Linked DNA regions of Homo sapiens: all the other regions are linked to region 3. Evidence: promoter capture Hi-C in 16 types of primary human blood cells and fetal thymus (Javierre and others, 2016). All regions are on one chromosome and are shown on one strand. Each heading gives the region's core, a stretch centred on a gene start or on the middle of the fragment in contact. The rest is flanking DNA. Distances are from core to core; before and after follow the strand shown. Region 1 overlaps ZNF836 (zinc finger protein 836). Region 2 has its middle 1.6 kb from the start of ZNF585A. Region 3 holds the start of ZNF559 (zinc finger protein 559).

Evidence for each region. Contacts are between HindIII fragments. The CHiCAGO score rates a contact against its expected background, and 5 or more counts as called.
Region 1: a contact is called between a fragment that was not itself captured here and the fragment with the promoter of ZNF559 in region 3, in 1 of 17 cell types (non-activated CD4 T cells). The highest score is 5.6, in non-activated CD4 T cells.
Region 2: a fragment that was not itself captured here is called in contact with the fragment with the promoter of ZNF559 in region 3 in 1 of 17 cell types (naive B cells); the score reaches 8.3 in naive B cells.

What each region holds. Positions count from the first base shown.
Region 1 is chr19:52,154,953-52,158,100 of GRCh38, forward strand. ZNF836 (zinc finger protein 836) reads right to left here. Exons shown (of 5, transcript NM_001102657.3): 5 at 1-2,588. Among named protein-coding and RNA genes, the nearest start is that of ZNF836, 15 kb to the right of the region's middle. The HindIII fragment of the contact is 2,093 bases long and covers 205-2,297 here.
Region 2 is chr19:37,172,905-37,175,679 of GRCh38, forward strand. No RefSeq gene overlaps it. Among named protein-coding and RNA genes, the nearest start is that of ZNF585A, 1.6 kb to the left of the region's middle. RefSeq lists an enhancer at 1-17. The HindIII fragment of the contact is 1,132 bases long and covers 767-1,898 here.
Region 3 is chr19:9,322,819-9,325,875 of GRCh38, forward strand. It overlaps ZNF559 (zinc finger protein 559), which reads left to right and starts at 1,361. Exons shown (of 7, transcript NM_032497.3): 1 at 1,361-1,410; 2 at 1,877-1,962. It overlaps ZNF559-ZNF177 (ZNF559-ZNF177 readthrough), which reads left to right and starts at 1,361. Exons shown (of 13, transcript NM_001384659.1): 1 at 1,361-1,410; 2 at 1,877-1,962. RefSeq lists an enhancer at 1,205-1,454 and a silencer at 1,625-1,764. The HindIII fragment of the contact is 3,488 bases long and covers 1-3,057 here.

The DNA of each region.
Region 1 (3,148 bases), core at 1-2,500, about 43 Mb after region 3:
TGTCTGATGTTTAGTGAGGCCTGAGCGACTAATGAAAGATTTGCCACACTCATTACATTTATAAGGTTTTTCTCCAGAATGAATCATTTGGTGTTTGTTGAGGCAAGAAAACCGCCCAAAGGCCTTGCCACATTCAATACATTTGTATGGCTTCTCTCCAGTGTGATTTCTTTGATGGTACACCAGCTTTGACCTTTCAATAAAAGCTTTACCACATTCATTACATTTGTAAGGTTTGTCCCCAGTATGCATTTTCTGATGATTAACCAGAATTGAACGCACTCTAAAGGCTTTGCCACACTCATTACACACGTAAGGTTTCTCTCCAGTATGAATACTCCGATGACGTGCTAGTGTTGATTGATGACGAAAGACCTTGCCACATTCATTACATTTGTAAGGTTTCTCTCCAGTGTGAATTCTCCGATGCCTTGCAAGGTTCGAAGTGGAATTAAAGACCTGGCCACATTCAATACATTTGTATGGCATCTCTCCAGTATGCCTTCTCTGATGGTACGTCAGGCCTGTTATATGACTAAAAGTTCTACCACAATGGCTACATTTGTGTGGTTTCTCCCCAGTAGGATTTCTGTGATATCTTGCAAGTTTTGAACTTTGGATAAATGCCCCTCCAAACTCATTACAATTGTAAGGTTTCTCTCCAGTATGAATTATCAGATGTTTAGTGAGGCTTGAACGCTGAGTATAGGCTTTGCCACAATCATTACATTTGTAAGGTTTCTCTCCGGTATGAATTTTCCGATGACGTGCTAGGCATGAGTAGTAACTGAAAACCTTGCCGCATTCGTTACATTGAAACGGCTTCTCTCCAGTATGAATTCTCTTATGATTTGAAAGGTTTCCACTGTCATTGAAGACCTTGCCACACACATTACATTTGTAAGGTTTCTGCCCAGTATGAATTCTTAGATGACGTGCTAGGCATGAGTAGTTCCTGAAGACTGTGCCACATTCATTACATTGGAAAGGTTTCTCTCCCGTATGTATTCTCTTATGAATTGAAAGGTTTCCACTGTAATTGAAGACCTTGCCACACACATTACATTTGTAAGGTTGCTCCCCAGTATGAATTCTTAAATGTCTTACAAGGCATGAATTTTCACTAAAGACCTTTCCACATTCACCGCATTGGTAACGTTTCTCTCTGGTATGAATTATCTTATGTCGAGTGAGTAATGAGCCCTGTTTAAAGGCTTTACCACATTTATCACATTTGTAAGGTTTCTCTCCAGTATGAATTCTCCGATGCCCCACAAGATGTGAAGTCTGACTGAAGACCTTGCCACATTCATTGCATTTGTAAGGTTTCTCTCCAGTATGACTTCTCTGGTGCCTTGCAAGTTGTGAACGTTGACTGAAGACCTTGTCGCATACATCACATGTATATGGTTTCTCTCCTGTATGGATTATCTGATGTGTAGTGAGGCTGGAGCTCCGTTTAAAGGTTTTGCCACACTCATCACATTTGTAAGGTTTGTTTCCACTATGAACTGTCTGATGAGTTGCCAGGTTGGAACTTTGACTAAAGGACTTTCCACATATGTTGCATTTGTATGGTTTCTCTCCAGTGTGGATTCTCTGGTGATTTACAAGATTAGAATTCTGCCTGAAGACCTTGCCACATATATCACATTGATATGGTTTCTCTCCTGTATGGATTATCTGATGTGTAGTGAGGCATGAGCCTTGTTTGAAGGTTTTCCCACACTCATTACATTTGTAAGGTTTCTCTCCAGTGTGAATTCTCTGATGTATTGCAAGGTTATAACTTTGACTAAAGGACTTGCCACATTCATTACATTTGTACGGTTTCTCTCCAGTGTGACTTCTCCGGTGATTTACAAGATCTGAATTTTGTCTGAAGATCTTGCCACATACACCACATTGATATGGCTTCCCCCTTGTATGGACTATCTGATGTATAGTTAGTAGTGAGCCCCGATGAAAGGCTTTGCCACATTCATTGCATTTGTAAGGTTTCTCTGTAGTATGTACCATCTGATGGTTAATAAGACTTGAAGACACTCTAAAGGCTTTGCCACACCCTTTACACATATAAGGTTTTTCCCTAATGTGTGTTTTCTCAAGTTGGGTGGGTAATGACAGCTGCAAAAACTCATTCTCATATTTTTTAGAAATGTTGGTTTGGACACTAGGAAGAATTCTTTGAAGTGGTGAAACTAGGGAACTGTTATTAACTGTCTTCTCAGATTGGTTACACTCATAAATTTTCCCTTCAGTTTGAAATTTCTGCAGTTCAGTCAGACGTGACTGAAAGCTTAATGTAAGCTGATTTTCAATACATTTGTTTTCTACATCCTCTTGACTATGTTGACCTCTTTTACCATTAAGATTGTTTTTATAGGTCATTGGCACTTCTTTATAATTTATTTCACCATCTTTCCATTGAAACTCAAGGTCCTGTAGATTTTTCTGGATTTCCCTTAAGTAAAAATTTTCAACATCATAACATTCATGTCTTTCCAGCGTCACTGTTTGGCATTTTTCTCCTGTATTACTGTTCCCTATTGGTGGTAATTCCTTGGTCATACATTTAGGAAGGATACCTACAAAATATAATGAACATGGGAGTTTTTTCGTTGGTTTTTTTTTTTGAGACAGAGTCTTGCTCTGTTGCCCAGGCTGGAGTGGAGTGGCACAATCTCAGCTCACTGTGACCTCCACCTCCTGGGTTCGAGCTATTCTTCTGCCTCAGCCTCCTGAGTAGCTGGGACTACAGGCACACATCACCACACCTGGCTAATTTTTATATTTTTAGTAGAGACAGGGTTTCCCCATATTGGCCAGGCTGGTCTCGAACTCCTGACCTCGTGATCCGCCCACCTCGGCCCCACAAAGTGCTGGGATTACAGGTGTGAGCCACTGCGCCTGGCCGAACATAGATTTTAAAAATAACTAGTATTATTTGTTTTTTTTTAAATAACTACTATTCATAAATATTTTATATTGAAAACATACTACACTAAAAGTAACGTTTATACTAGACAGTTACCAAACTTTACCACAATGATCTTCTATTTTTACAAATAAAAAAGGAGTAGAATTCTTCAGTAAAGAAAGAGTAATCACATGTAATTCAAATTAATTTTAAGGAAACCTAGTTTCA
Region 2 (2,775 bases), core at 83-2,582, about 28 Mb after region 3:
ATCCATTCCGTAGAGCAGAGGAATTGGCCGCTGGCAGGGTTTCCTAGAGCGAGGCAGGTATAGTTACATAGGATGCTGGAGTGTGACCCTTGTCTGACTAGGCTTCTATTTCGGAGGAGAAAGTTACTGGAAATGTGGGTCTGGTGCTGTATGTTATATTTAGAAAAGCTAAGTTACCTTTCTGAATACAGGACACTGAGGATAATAATTACCAGGGAATAGAGGAGCCAGGGAAAAATCACCAAGTGAAGGGGATCCTGGGAGAAACCACAGGCAGATGATAGGAGGAATCAGGATAGTACAGTCCATTTTTTACAGACGCCATTCAGGGAAAAGGTGGAAAGGTCACTAGGGGAGTCATCTCTTGAGTGAAACCACCCTGAAAGTCTGAGAGACATCTGAATGAGTAGTAGGCTGCAGGAAGAGTGGTACAACTTTTAATGGGAGAAACCGCCTTGGGAAATAGGGTAGAAGTCCAATAGTATTAATACAATCCTCTCCTGGGAGATACCACCAGAGGAGGGAGGAGAAGTCCGGGCGTCCCCTTCTGAAGGGCTGGGTCGGGTGGGAAGGTGAATAGAGATTTGAATCACCCATTACCCTCCACACTAAATACCTCAAGTGCAACTATAGTAGGCAGCAATAATAACAACACTAATAGTCTTTAGTATGGCCAACGTGTTACTAAAAGCACCTAAAGAAGACTGTTTTTATTTACCTTGAAGTTAAAATATAATTAATAACAATCGCCTTACCATGTCAATGAAGCTTTAAGTGCAGTCTCTGACCCTTAGCTTCTCCTCTGTGGAAATTCTGAAACCTCCTTACTCCCCTTTTTGGAGGGTGTGGATGAGGAGTTGTAAAGATACAATTCCTTTCACTTGGTGAACTCCTAAACATGATTCACAGCTCAGCTTCTGACAGGAAGTTCTACCTGAACAGTGGTGGGAAATTACTACCCAATGTGTTCAGTTCCAGCAGGTGGGAAACTTGTTTTCAGGGAATTGAACCTACACTCTGATGTGGGCATGCTGGATGCCTTCAGGCCAGTTATGTCTGTCTCTGGGACTCGGCTTAAAAATATGTTTAGAGAATTAGACTCTGCTGATCTCAGGTTTTCTTTCTTCTCCGAAAGGACGGTCTAAGGAAACATCTGTGGAAGTCCGTTAGTAAACACACAATTTCTACCAAGGGGCTAAGAATTACTGTTGATTTTGTCAGTAATGCAGCTCTGTTAAAAAGAAGATGACTTAACTTTTAGGGATTCGTGTGGAAATATTTATGGGTGGAATAATATTAGCTTTAAAAACTCCACTGAGAAAAAAAAAACTCCACTGAGAAGGGGTATATGGTATTGCAAAAGAAAATGTTGATAAATGTTAAAGCAGAGTGATAAGTAGACAGAACTCATTATAATGTTCTCTTCCATAGTATTTGTGTGAAATTTTCATAGTAAATTTCTAATTTAAAAAGAAAGGAATTAAAAACATTTACAAGGAAACATCAAGAAGACAGCAGGTGTGGTCATAGTGTTAGGGAAGATGAAACCTAGGAGACCCAGAGTGACACCATTTTAAGTTCAGCTCCATCTTGACACTAGCAAGGCACATTCATTGCAAGTCACAACTCATGGTCCTAATGTGTTTACAGCGAAGGAAGCAGCCCTGTAATGCCTGCAAAGACAAACTCCTAGAACAACAGAAAGTCCAGATGTCCAATACCCATAACAATAAATGCTTTCAAGATCATTATAGTTATACTTTGATGTACTTACTAAAATGTCAGGGATAGTTTTCTTTAAATCAATAGAATAATAAATTTTGTCATAATGTCAGGCCACCCACGCATAGGCACAGCTTACTTTAGTCTTTACATAGACAAGACCCCTATATAAGAAAAGCTTAACAGATGTTCCTCCACTTGCTTTCTGAGGACACCCTACTCTGTTGTGGAGTAGCTTTCAATAAACTATCTCTTCTCACTGCACTCTACAACCCACCTGGAATTCTTTCCTGCATGAGATCAAGAACCCTCTCTTGGAGTCTGGATTGAGACCCTTTTATTTCCATAACAATAGTATTATACAAACACAGGCATACCTCAGCGATATTTAGGGTTTGGTTCTAGACCACTACAATAAAGCGAGTCACACAATTTGTTTGGTTTCCTGGTGCGACATACACTGGGGCCTGTTGGGGGTGGGGTGGCGGGAGGGAGAGCATTAGGAAAAATAGCTAATGCATCCTGGGCTTAACACCTAGGTGATGGGTTGACAGGTGCAGCAAACCACCATGGCACACGTTTACCTATGTAACAAACCTGCACATCCTGCACACGTACCCCAGAACTTAAAATAAAAATTAAAGGCTGGGTGCCCGTGGCTCACGCCTCTAATCCCAGCACTTGGGGAGGCCAAGGCAGGCGGATCACGAGGTCAAGAGGTCGAGACCATCCTGGCCAACATTGTGAAACTCTGTCTCTATTAAAAATACAAAAATTAGCTGGGTGTGGCAGTGCACACCTGTAGTTCCAGCTACTCGGGAGTGTGAGGCAGGAGAATCACTTGAACCCGGGAGGCAGAGGTTGCAGTGAGTTGAGATCGCGCCACTGCACTCCAGCCTGGGCGACAGTGCAAGACTCTGTCTCAAAAAAATAAAATTAAAATTAAAAAAGTCTATTTTGAAAAAAATAGAGAAAGAAAACAACATGAGAAAGAAAAAGGAACATTACTACTGAGAGAAAGATTTAAAACTCAAGAGAATTCTAAGGATATTT
Region 3 (3,057 bases), core at 111-2,610:
CAAGAACCCACCAATTCCGGACACATTAGTACAGGTCTTTGAATAAATTTTGCTTCTAACAGAAGTTACTATTTATTCCTAATTAGATGGGCAGGAAAGTCTTTGAAGAGGAACCTCTACTTTACTTTTTACTGTAGAGAGAGTAGTCTTTGATCTTGGGGAGATGGGGTTTTTCCTTTTGGTTTAGCTTCAGGAAGTTTGTGTTAATTGGCCTTAGGTGCCCTGCCCCCAGCCCCAGGTGTTTTTCCTTTGATTTAACTTTAGGAAATTATCACGAATTGGCCTTAGATTCCCCGACCCCAGATCTTGGTGTTTTCACTTTTAGGAAGTCCGCATGAATCTTATCTATGCTCTTAACTACGTCCTAATTTTTGTGTTTTTTGTCTTTTTTATAGGAATAGGGTTTTGCCATATTGCCCAGGCTGGTCTCGAACTCCTGAGCTCAAGTGGTCTGCCTGCCTCAGCCTCCCAAAGTGCTGGGATCACTGGCGTGAGCCATCAGGCCCAGCCTCTATGTGCTAATTTTTGAACAAATTCCAATAGGAGCATTCTAGTCTCTGAGTGTGAGATGACCAAAAATCAAGCCCTTGTGAGGCTGAATAGAGTCGGGAGGCAGGGAACTTAAGGCTGTTTCAGGCCGACTTCCTAGAACTAAATTGAAAGGAAAACCCTCACTTTCCTCGCCTAAATAACAAAAGGACCAGAGGCTACTCCCTTTGACCTTTTCTGCTGGCAGATAGGAAATTGGCTGTCTGCAACAAATCAGACTGATGGCCGGTTGAGTCTTCATTTGCATAGAAGTGTAACTTTGTAACGTCGTAACTTCACCCTAGCCTTTGATTGGTTGCTTTTTGCAACCAATCAGATGTTTGCACAGGAGTGTGACCTTTGTAACTTCAGACTCTGGTTGGCTGCTTTCTGCAACCAATCAGACTGAACGCGGGCTACCGCTTCATTTACAGGAGGTGAGCATGAAGTGGCCAATGGGAAAATTCTAGGAGGTATTGGGACTCATGAAGGTTCTGTTTCGGAGCCCTTGAGCTGCCGCTTGGCCAGTTCCCACACTGTGGAGTATGCTTTCGTTTTCAACAAATCCCAGCTCTTGTTCTTTTGTTGCTTCATTCTTTCTTTGCTTTGCTGGGCGTTTTGTCTAATTCTTTGTTCAAAACGCCAGTAACCTGGACAGCTTGCAGTCAAGACCCCCTACCGGTGACACTTGCGCTCTTCGGGGAGGTAAACAGCATTTCCTCTCAGCTCTGGGTTGGAAAAAGCCGCAGCAGCTGATGGGCCCGGGAACCCGAGGCCCCGCCCCCTAGGTGGTCCTAGCCTTTGCGCGTGCGCGGCGTGTCTGCGTGGGCGCATGCGCATAACGGCCGCCATCTTAACAGCGCGTTCCCGTTGGCGTCTGAGGTAAGTTTTTGTTTCTGGGCGGCGTTCGGTGGTGTCCCGGTGCAGCCACGCGAGAGTAGAAGGGTGGAAAGGGGAGGTGCCCAGTGAAATGGAGCCTGTCCCGTGCACTTTCGGGCATTTCGAGCATCTTGTGGGCTCTCCCAAGTCGCGGCCCCTCCTCTGAGAGCCACAGTCAGGTCTGTCCTCAGGGGTCGAGGCGGCTGCGCTGGGGCCTCGGCCCGGGAGGAGGCGGGGGGCACGGCCTTTCCATTTTCCCTGCTCCCCTCTGCAGAAGCCTCATAGGGCCCGGCGCGGCGGCTCACGCCTGTCATTCCCAGCGCTTTGGGCGGATTGGGTAGGAGGATTACTTGAGGCCAGGAGTTCAAGACCAGGCAGGGCAACATAGGGAGACCCCCCCCCCCAACCATCTCTAATGGAAAAAAAAAAAAAAGTCTCCACATCCAGCGTTGTGCCTTTTCTCTATAAGGAACAGCATCTCTGCCTTCCTGTTCACGGTGACCTTCGCTTGGTGTCCTCCTGGCCTCAGCAACCTGACAATTCTGTCGTGTCCCGGTGAGCACTTCATGCACTTGTTCTGGCTGTGGGTGTCGGGTCTTGAAGTTTAAGTTGTGTCGAGGTGGAAAGAAACCTTTTCAGGTGGTTGTTCGAGAGCACATGGATCTGATACCATCGAATGCATGAGTGGATGAATGCACATAACTGTAAAATTTACCACCAAGGAAAAACACAGGACTACTCAACTGTGGTTCCAGGCCATCACCTAGATCTCACTCTAGCGCCCTGTAGATTCCCCCAGAGGTTCAAAACGAGGGCATCCCCAGGAACACGGTGCGGGCTGATTTACTAGCAGGAGGGATTGAATTGATAATGAATGCGAAGATAACTTTTGACAGGTGGGTTTTCTACCAGTTACTCATTTGAAAGTCTTACTGAGGGCGGGGCAAGGTGGCTCACACCTGTAATCCCAGCGTTTTGGGAGGCTGAGGCTGGAGGATCGCTTGAGCCCAGGAATTTGATGCCAACCTGGAAAAAATAGGGCAAGCCTCTGTCTCTACTAAAAATAAAAAATTAGCTGGGCATGGTGGTGTCTGTGGTCCCATCCACTTTGGAGGCCGAGATGCGAGGATCACTTGAGCATGGGAGGTCGAGGCTGCTGTGAGCCATTATTGTGTCACTGCATTCCAGCTTAGGCAACAGAGTGAGACCCTGTTTCAAAAAGAAGAAAAAAAAACAAATACTGATCTAGAGAACATCTGTAGCTCGAGTAAAACAAATGTCTTTAGTCCAGGTGTGGTGGCTCACGCCTGTAATCCCAGCATGTTGGGAGGCTGAGGCTGGCGGATCACGAGGTCAGGAGTTTGAGACCAGCCTGGCCAACATAGTGAAACCCCGTCTTTACTCAAAATACAAAAAATTAGCCGGGCGTGGGCACCTGTAATCCCAGCTACTCAGGAGCCTGAGGCAGGAGAATCGCTTGAACCTGGGAGGCAGAGGTTGCAGTGAGCCAAGATTGCACCCTTGCATTCCAGCCTGGGCAACAGTGCGAGACTCCGTCTCCAAAAAAAAAAAAAAAAGTCTTTAACCCTTAACTACATTCACTAGTTGTTAAGATTTGTTTCATTTTTTTGTATATGTACTTTATCATGA